Regions from separate parts of the Homo sapiens genome. Here region 1 is linked to region 2. Evidence: promoter capture Hi-C in human tissues and cell types (Jung and others, 2019). All regions are on one chromosome and are shown on one strand. The core of a region is centred on a gene start or on the middle of the fragment in contact, and the rest is flanking DNA. Distances in the headings are between cores, read along the strand shown.

What was found. The method cuts DNA at HindIII sites, captures the fragments that hold promoters and counts their contacts. A contact is called where the count stands out against the background at its distance.
Region 1: a fragment that was not itself captured here is called in contact with the fragment with the promoter of C2CD4C in region 2 in 4 of the 25 tissues and cell types used here (IMR-90 fibroblasts, dorsolateral prefrontal cortex, mesendoderm cells and 1 more).

Annotation. Positions count from the first base shown.
Region 1 is chr19:513,146-517,283 of GRCh38, forward strand. The region is part of intron 1 of TPGS1 (tubulin polyglutamylase complex subunit 1); the gene reads left to right. Among named protein-coding and RNA genes, the nearest start is that of MADCAM1-AS1, 7.3 kb to the left of the region's middle. The HindIII fragment of the contact is 7,591 bases long and covers 1-4,138 here.
Region 2 is chr19:406,844-411,169 of GRCh38, forward strand. It overlaps C2CD4C (C2 calcium dependent domain containing 4C), which reads right to left and starts at 2,304. Exons shown (of 2, transcript NM_001136263.2): 1 at 2,163-2,304; 2 at 1-1,558. The coding sequence starts at 1,518. The coding sequence ends at 253. It overlaps LOC124904607 (proline-rich proteoglycan 2-like), which reads right to left. Exons shown (of 2, transcript XM_047439790.1): 2 at 2,679-4,326. The coding sequence ends at 3,450. RefSeq lists enhancers at 1-166, 167-1,047. The HindIII fragment of the contact is 18,208 bases long and covers 1-4,326 here.

The sequences.
Region 1 (4,138 bases), core at 289-2,788, 110 kb after region 2:
AGCAGATCCTGATGAGAGGGGCCCCGGTGCGGCTCCTGCTGGGTCATGCGGAGAGGTCAGGCGTGATGGGAGCTCGGGCCGCCGCGCTGACACTGCGACTGCCCCCAGCGCATTTTGGGGATGACCTCATGGATGGTAAAAGCGCCCAGCGGATTATAAGGGCCAACAAATGGGGCCTTTACTACTTGGGAGGGAAAAGGAGCGTACAGCCAGATGGGCCTAGAGTTGAATTGCAGGTCGCTGCCCTCCTGCCTCTGGGCCTCAGTTTCCTCCTCCATAGCAGAGCTTTGACCCTCGAGCTCGCTGAGATGGCACGTCCATCCCTAAGCCCTGAACTGAGCAGCAGTGATGACCAGGGAGGCACGTGTTCACCAGGCACCCACCGTGCACCGGCCCAGCATTACTGAGCACCTACTGTGCACCCGCCCAGCATTTACTGAGCACCTACTGCATGCCGGCCCTGCATTACTGAACACCTACTGCACACCAGCCCAGCATTACTGAGCACCTACTGCATACTGGCCCTGCATTACTGAGTACCTACTGCACACCAGCCCAGCATTACTGAGTACCTACTGCACACCAGCCCAGCATTACTGAGTACCTACTGCACACCAGCCCAGCATTACTGAGTACCTACTGCACACCAGCCCCACATTTACTGAGCACCTACTGCACACTGGCCCCACATTTACTGAGCACCTATTGCATCCTGGCCCAGCATTTAGTGAGCACCCACTGCACACAACCCCAGCATTACTGAGCACCTACTGTGCACTAGTCCTGCATTACTGAGCACCTGCTGCACACCAACCTGCCCCGGCCCCACATTTACTGAGCACCTATTGCATGCTGGCCCAGCATTTACTGAGCACCCACTGTACACAGACCCAGCATTACTGAGCACCCACTGCACACTGGCCCCACATTTGCTGAGCACCTACTATGTACCAGCCCTGCATTCACTAAGCACCTACTGTACACCAGCCCTGTATTACTGAGCACCCACTGCACACTGACCCTACATTTACTGAGCACCTATTGCATGCTGGCCCAGCATTTACTTCACTCCCACTGCACACCGCCCCAGCATTACTGAGTACCTACCGTGTACTGGCCCTGCATTCACTGAGCACCTACTCTACACCGGCCCTGTATTACTGAGCACCCACTGCACACCGACCCCACGTTTACTAAGCACCTATTGCTTACTGGCCCAGCATTTACTGAGCACCCACTGCACACCGCCCCAGCATTACTGAGTACCTATTGCACACCAGCCCCACATTTACTGAGCACCTATTGCATTCTGGCCCAGCATCACTGAGCACCTACTGTGTACCAGCCCTGCATTACTGAGCACCTGCTGCACACCAACCCTGCATTTACTGAGCACCTACTGCATGCTGGCTTAGCACTTCCCCGGCACCTACCACAGGTGGCCCACAGAAAGGTGAAGTCGTGTGCCCAGGTCATGCCGGAGGGAAGGCTGCCCTCCTCACCATGAAGCTGAGCTCCCAGAAGGGAAAAGCGTAAGCCCTGAGGTTGGCCACTTCCTCTCTGGGACCCTTGGCCAGACCATGGGGCTGCCCTGAGCCTCAGTTTCCCTATATGTCCCAGAGGAAGTAACAGGCCACTAGCATGAGGCCTGGCCGGGAACTGATGGGGGGAGTGAGGCCAGGGGGTTAAGCAGCCCACCCAGGGTCCTGCAGCGGCCCCCACGCTGGCCACGGTGCTCCCTGGCCACTCCCTGGTGCCCTCCACGGGAGTGTGTGTCACACTACCAGCACACGAGTGGCACGTAGTAAGGCCTCAGGCTCCTCACTGGGGCAGGGAATCGAACCCACCCCAGAGCCGGCAGCAGGGCTGACAGCCTTCTTCTGTAAGGGGCCAGATAGTGAACATTTCAGCTTTGCGTGGCAGCCTCCATCCTGACATTCAGCTCTACGGTTCTGGTCGGAAGCTGCCACAGGCCACATGTCAGCGGACTGATGTGGTTATGTTCCGATAAAGCTTTATTTACAAAAGCAGGCAGCAGGTCGTATTTGACCCTCAGGCTGACTGTGGGGCCTTGCCTGTGGGATTGTGGGGAGAGAAATACCACCACTGGCCCCGAGCAGCAACTGTCACCTGTAATCCCAGCAGTTTGGGAGGCTGAGGCAGGAGGATCGCTTGAGCCCAGGAGGTGGAGGCTGCTGTGAGCCCTGATTGTACCACTGCTCTCCAGCCTGCACAACACAGTGAGACCCTGTCTCAAAAAAAAAAAAAAAAGAAAAAATGCAATGTCAGCTGTGTTAAATGTTCAGCACAGACTGGGCGCAGTGGCTCACACCTGTAATCCCAGCACTTTGGGAGGCCGAGGTGGGCGGACCACGAGGTCACTCGAGATCCAGACCATCCTGGCCGACATGGTGAAACCCCGTCTCTACTAAAAATACAAAAATTAGCTGGGTGTGGTAACACACGCCTGTAATCCCAGCAGCTCAGGAGGCTGAGGCAGGAGAATCGCTTGAACCCGGGAGGTGGAGGTTGCTGTGAGCTGAGATTGTGCCACTGCACTCCAGCCTGACAACAGAGTGAGACACTGTCTCAAAAAAAGAAAGAGGGCCGGGCGCGGTGGCTCACGCCTGTAATCCCAGCACTTTGGGAGGCCGAGGCGGGTGGATCACGAGGTCAGGAGATCGAGACCATCCCGGCTAAAACGGTGAAACCCCGTCTCTACTAAAAATACAAAAAATTAGCCGGGCATAGTGGCGGACGCCTGTAGTCCCAGCTACTTGGGAGGCTGAGGCAGGAGAATGGCGTGAACCCGGGAGGCGGAGCTTGCAGTGAGCCGAGATCCCGCCACTGCACTCCAGCCCGGGCGACAGAGCGAGACTCCGTCTCAAAAAAAAAAAAAAAAGGAAGAAAGAAAGAAAGAAAAGAAAAAAACAAATGTCAGTTGTGTTAAATGTTGGGCACAGTATTTGGCCACATGTAAACAGGCGCTGCTGCTGCAGGGAGGGAGACCAGAGGGTCCTGGTGTTGTGGGACAAAGAGTGGAGAGACCGAAAAAGGTTCAGGAGAGTTTATCAAGGTGATCACCGGCTCAGCTGGACATACATCCAGAAAGTCTGAGCCTCGAACAAAGGGCTTTTCCTATTTTTAAACATCGTAAGGCGGGAACTACGTGAGGCGGGAAGCAAGTTACAGAGGCGAGAAACAAAGGCAGTTAAGCATTACAGCATTTCTTTTTTCTTTTTCTTTTTTTTTTTTTTGAGACGGAGTCTCGCTCTGTCGCCCAGGCTGGAGTGCAGTGGCGCCATCTTGGCTCACCGCAACCTCCACCTCCCAGGTTCAAGCGATTCTCCTGCCTCAGACTCCCGAGTAGCTGGGACTACAGACGTGTACCACCACGTCCCGCTAATTTTTGTATTTTTAGTAGAGATGGGGTTTCACCATGTTGGCCAGGATGGCCTCAATCTCTTGACCTTGTGATCCTCCCACCTCGGCCTCCCAAAGTGCTGGGATTACAGGCGTGAGCCACCGTGCCTGGCCAACATTTCTCACATCTTGAGAAAAACATGTCTTACAACCTAAACTTATCGGTTTTGTGACCCTGCAGCCGTGCTAGGGAGGTAAGCAGGAACTCGCTGGGCCTGTAATAAACTGAGGAATGTGGAGTTGGAGAGTATAGATAAGGTCCACTGACTACAGAGAGAAGACAGGCTGTTAACATTCTCTTTTAACTTGAGTGTAAGGGTGGGGGTCACACTTTGCAGCAACTTTAAGAGGATTTTAAAATTTCTATGACTACTACTATTAGGTTAGAGCTGATTTCACTAATTCCTTCTTCACTGGGGCCAGATGCCCCAGACAGATGCCTGCCGTTGATTCAAGACATTTACTGAGCACCTACTGTGGGCAGGGCAGTGTTCTGGGCACCAGGGCTATAACCAAGACGAACTTCCGGCCCTGGAGGGCAGGTGCTCACACTGGTGGGAGACATGAAGCTCACAGGGATGTGGGACAGCGAGTGAGACAGGATGACCACTAGGAAGAAAACAGGAGGAAAGGAGTTAGGGGTCAGGGGAGGCGACATTTGAGGAGAGACCTGGAGGAGACCAGGGAGGAGGTGAGGGAGATCTGGGGGAAGGCA
Region 2 (4,326 bases), core at 1,054-3,553:
GAGGCCCCTCTCCTCCTCCTCCTCCTCCTCCAAAGGAGAAATTAATTCATGAAAAATAATACTCCAGTCAGCATCGGGTGACCCAGGAAACCCTGCGTCAGCTACAGCATCAGCGCCCAGCCCAGCCTGAGTGTGAGCCCCTCCCCGGCCAGCCCCAGCCCAAGCCAGCGGACCCGCCCGCCAGCACCCGGTGTGGAGGAGAGACCGGGGTCTGCCCTCTGCACCCGAGCGGACAGCGAGCAGGTCCCCGCTCTACAGGAAGGGGAGCAGGGAGGTCAGGGGCAGCTCCTTCTCCCCGAGCAGCGTGTCCCGCTTGAGGCTGCTGCCCTTGTTCACCACCTTGATCCTGAGGGCCAGTTTCCGGACGCTGGCGGGCCCCAGGCCGTCGAAGAAGAAATCCTCGTTGAAGACGGGGCGGCGGCTGTTCTTCACGATGGTGCTGCGCTGCTTCTGCAGCTTGCCCGGCACCAGGCACAGGCCCACGCAGCAGTTGATGCTGCGGGCGTCGCACAGGCGGTCGTAGAGGCCCTCGGCGGCCAGCAGGTGCACCCGCAGGCGGGCCTGGCCGGCCTCGTACTCGGCCAGCAGCCGCACGCTGCCCCGAGGGCCCACGTGGACCGTGTGCTCCCCACGCGCCTGGCCCGACTCGGGGCCAGGTTCCGGGGGTGCCCGGCGGGTCAGGCGGCGCCGGCTCCCGGGGCTGGCGTCCGGGGTGCTGTCGTCCGCAGACAGGGAGCCGTGGCGGCCCACGGAGTGCCGGAGCTGGCTCACCTTGGCCTGGCTGTCCTGGGCGAAACCTTTGAGCAGAGACACGGAGCGGGACAGCAGAGGGGACCCGAAGGGGGAGGACTCGGCCGAGGACCCTGTGTCGCTCTCCCCGCCACTGAAGTAGCGGCCGGGGCTCATGAGGGCCCCGCCAGCCTCCCTGGGGCCCCCATCACCCCCGTTGGCCTTGGCAGCTGCCCGGCGGCGCCCGGCCCCTGGGGAGCCCACCTGGGCCAGAGCCCCGTGCTCACTGTGGAACAGAGACTCCTTGCGCCTCGTGTGGGGGCTCTCAGCCAGCATGGCGAAGCCGTAGGACGTCTGGGCCTTGGGCACCGAGGGCAGGGACATGGCACCCTGGGCCTGGGGGTCGGCGTCAGTGGCCTCCTCGGACAGCCAGTCCTCGGCACTCTCGATCTGGATCACGTGCCGGGTGGCTGCCTTCAGCAGGCTCTTGCTCTCGGCTGCCAGCTTGGCAGGCAGCCGGGGGCTCCGTGGGGTCTGGCGGGGGGCCGCAGAGGCCAGGTTCTGTTCCGACGTGGAGGGGCCCAGCGCGGCCTGTCCCTCGCCCTCCGCGGGGCCCGAGGGCAGCTTGGGGGGGATGAAAAAGTCGGGGATCTTGTCGGGCGTCAACACATTGCTGTACAGGGGCCCCTTGGAGGCCTTGTCCCCCGCCTCACTCCCCACGCCCCGGGCAGCACCGTTTTCCCCAGACCCCCGAAGCCGCTCCAAGAACCACATGTTGGTTTTTCTCATGGGGGCGGCAGGCAAGAGGCCCGGACAGGGGCTGCAGCGTCTGGGAAGAGAAGCAGGGGTCAGGAGCAGTGGGGGGCGGCTGGCAGAGGGCCCTGGGCACCTGCTCCCTGTGGGGCCTCCCGGCAGGGCCCTGCCGGCGGGGTGGGGGTGGAGGGGTCCCCTGGGGGCGTCCCGCCCAGGCGCGGCGGCCCAGGACAGGAGTGAGGCGGGTTCCCCCCACCTTTTTCCGGAGAGATCCCGCTTAACTTCCCAGCACCAAGCCCAGGGGCGTGGGGGCCGCGCTCTGACTCTCCGGGGAGCTCCCAGAGGAGACTGGCCCCTCGCCCGCCCCCACTCTGGTTTTGAGCATCTCAGCGCTCATTCCAAAGGGTTCCGCGCTCAGTCCCAGGGGAAGACACGGATGTGGGTGGACCCCCGGGGTGTCCCAGCTCCGCCCCCCCGGCTCCCACCCACCTGTGGCTCCTCCCTGGACCGGAGGGCCAGGCGTTCGGGGTGGGGGAAGGGAGGGGCGGTAGGTCTGGGGCCGAGAGAGCAGCGAGTCGACTCCCCGGTGTCCCCCCGCCCCCAGCCCTCCCCGACTCCGCTTGGGGTGGGGGGTGGGGTCCCGGCGGTCCCCGCAGACCGGGCGGGGTCCCCGGACTTACCTGCCCGGGGTGATGGCCCGAGGCCGGAGGTCTGTTCGCAGACACGCAGGGGTCTCGGCGCGCAGGCTCCCGGGGCTGGCGCGGGGGACGCGGCCGGAGCTTCGATGCGGGCGGCGGCGGCGGCGGCAGCGCAGTCGGACTCATTCACCCGCGGCGGGAAACCGCCCAGCCCCGCCGCCGCCGCCGCCGTATTCCTCCGAGTACGGCCGCCCGCGCCCGCGCCCGCGCCCCCGCCCCCGCGGGAAGGGGGTGGGGCCGTCTCCCCGCAGCCCCCGGAGGCTGGTGGCAGGGAGGAGCCTCGCCAGGGCCCGGGGGCTGACTGGGGGCCGGTGGGAGACAAGCAGGTGGTCACGGTTGGCTGACGGCCACCCCCGGCGCTCACGCCCGCAGATTCCGGGAAGTCGGACTCCCAAGCCCCTGCCTCCGTATACCGGAAGAGGGTCCCAGACCCCCTACTCGCTGCCGGCGAGGAGCTTTCCCGACTAACGACGACGAATTAAATGACGGCAACAGTAATAAATGCAGCTGGGTTTATGATGGAGCGTTTCCTCCCTGCCAGCCTCCCAGCGTCCTGGCGGGTCTCTGACTCTCACACAACCCAGTACGCAGGTCCTACTGCAATTCTCAATCTGTAGATGAGGAAGGTGGGGGGTTTCCTTCCAGAAACAAGGACCGAACAGCTAGGACAGCAGGTCTTACTAAATGGGCAACCTCTCAGCAGCCCTACAAGAAGCCTGGAAGGGGGGGGCTCCTTCATTTCATGGACAAACGTTTCCTGAGCACCCGCTTGATGCTGGACAGTGACCTGGCCACCGGGGACACAGCTGGGACGGAGGGAGGTGGCCCCAGCCCTGGTGATGCAGGGGCAGGATGCCCACAGAGCGTACAGGTGCAGCTTAGAACTGCAGGGGTGGTGACGCCCGGAACAGGAATACAGCAGGAAAGCGTGAGGGTCGGGGCGAAGAGAGAAGGCACATGCGTGTGATTCACGGATGGAGAAACCCATAGGGGGCAAGACCAGGTCCAAACCCAGGCTTCCTGGCAGTTCCTGAGACCACAGGGTCCCCCCCTCCTGAGGCCCCGACCCCCCTCCTGCCAGCTGCTTCGTGATCTGCCAGCCCCGGCCTTCACTGCTTCCTTCTCTCCCTCCCTCCCTGCCCTCCCCGCCTCAGTTTCCTCTTCTGGAACCGAGCTGAGCAGTTCCCAGCCTCCTCGTGCTTGGAGCCAGCAAGATAACATATCCCCAGGACCAACCCGGAGCCGGCGGACGCCTGGCGCTTTATTGAATTATTGATTGTCCAGGAGCCTCCTGCATTCTGGGAATGTCCCCAAGTCTGGATGTGGCCCAAGCTGGGAGGAGCGGCTGCTGCCACAGTGGTAGAAGAGGGGTCCAGGAGGGCGAGAGAGCTGGGCTGAGGCCTCCCCACTCTCCACGTACCCTTGCAATAAGGGGTTAGAGTCCTGCCGTCCAGAGGGGAAAGTGAAACCCGGAGGAGCTGTGACCCCATCTAAGCTTTGCTCACCCAGCAAACGTTGATGAGCCCTCATTTTTGTGCTGGGGCAACCGCGACGCAGCCCCGAAGTCTGACAAGGAGGCAGACACCGAGGAATTCTCCCCTTCACCGCCGCCGCCTCCAGGAAGCCTGGGCAGGCCCCACCACAGACTAGCAGGGCCCCCGAACCCCAGCTCCAGCTGCCATGCAGAATACCCTTGGGCTGCTGTCCACCACCCCTGCTGGGCCTGAGGCGGGAGGAGGGTCCTGGGGGTCTGTCCACTGCCCCTGCTGGGCCCGGATCCTGGGGATCTGTCCACCGCCCCTGCTGGGCACGGATCCTGGGGGTCTGTCCACCGTCACTGCTGGGCCCGGATCCTGGGGGTCTGTCCACCGCCCCTGCTGGGCCCGGATCCTGGGGGTCTGTCCACCGCCCCTGCTGGGCCCGGATCCTGGGGGTCTGTCCACCGCCCCTGCTGGGCCCGGATCCTGGGGGTCTGTCCACCGCCCCTGCTGGGCCCGGATCCTGGGGGTCTGTCCACCGCCCCTGCTGGGCCCGGATCCTGGGGGTCTGTCCACCGCCCCTGCTGGGCACGGATCCTGGGGGTCTGTCCACCGCCCCTGCTGGGCCCGGATCCTGGGGGTCTGTCCACCGCCCCTGCTGGGCCCGG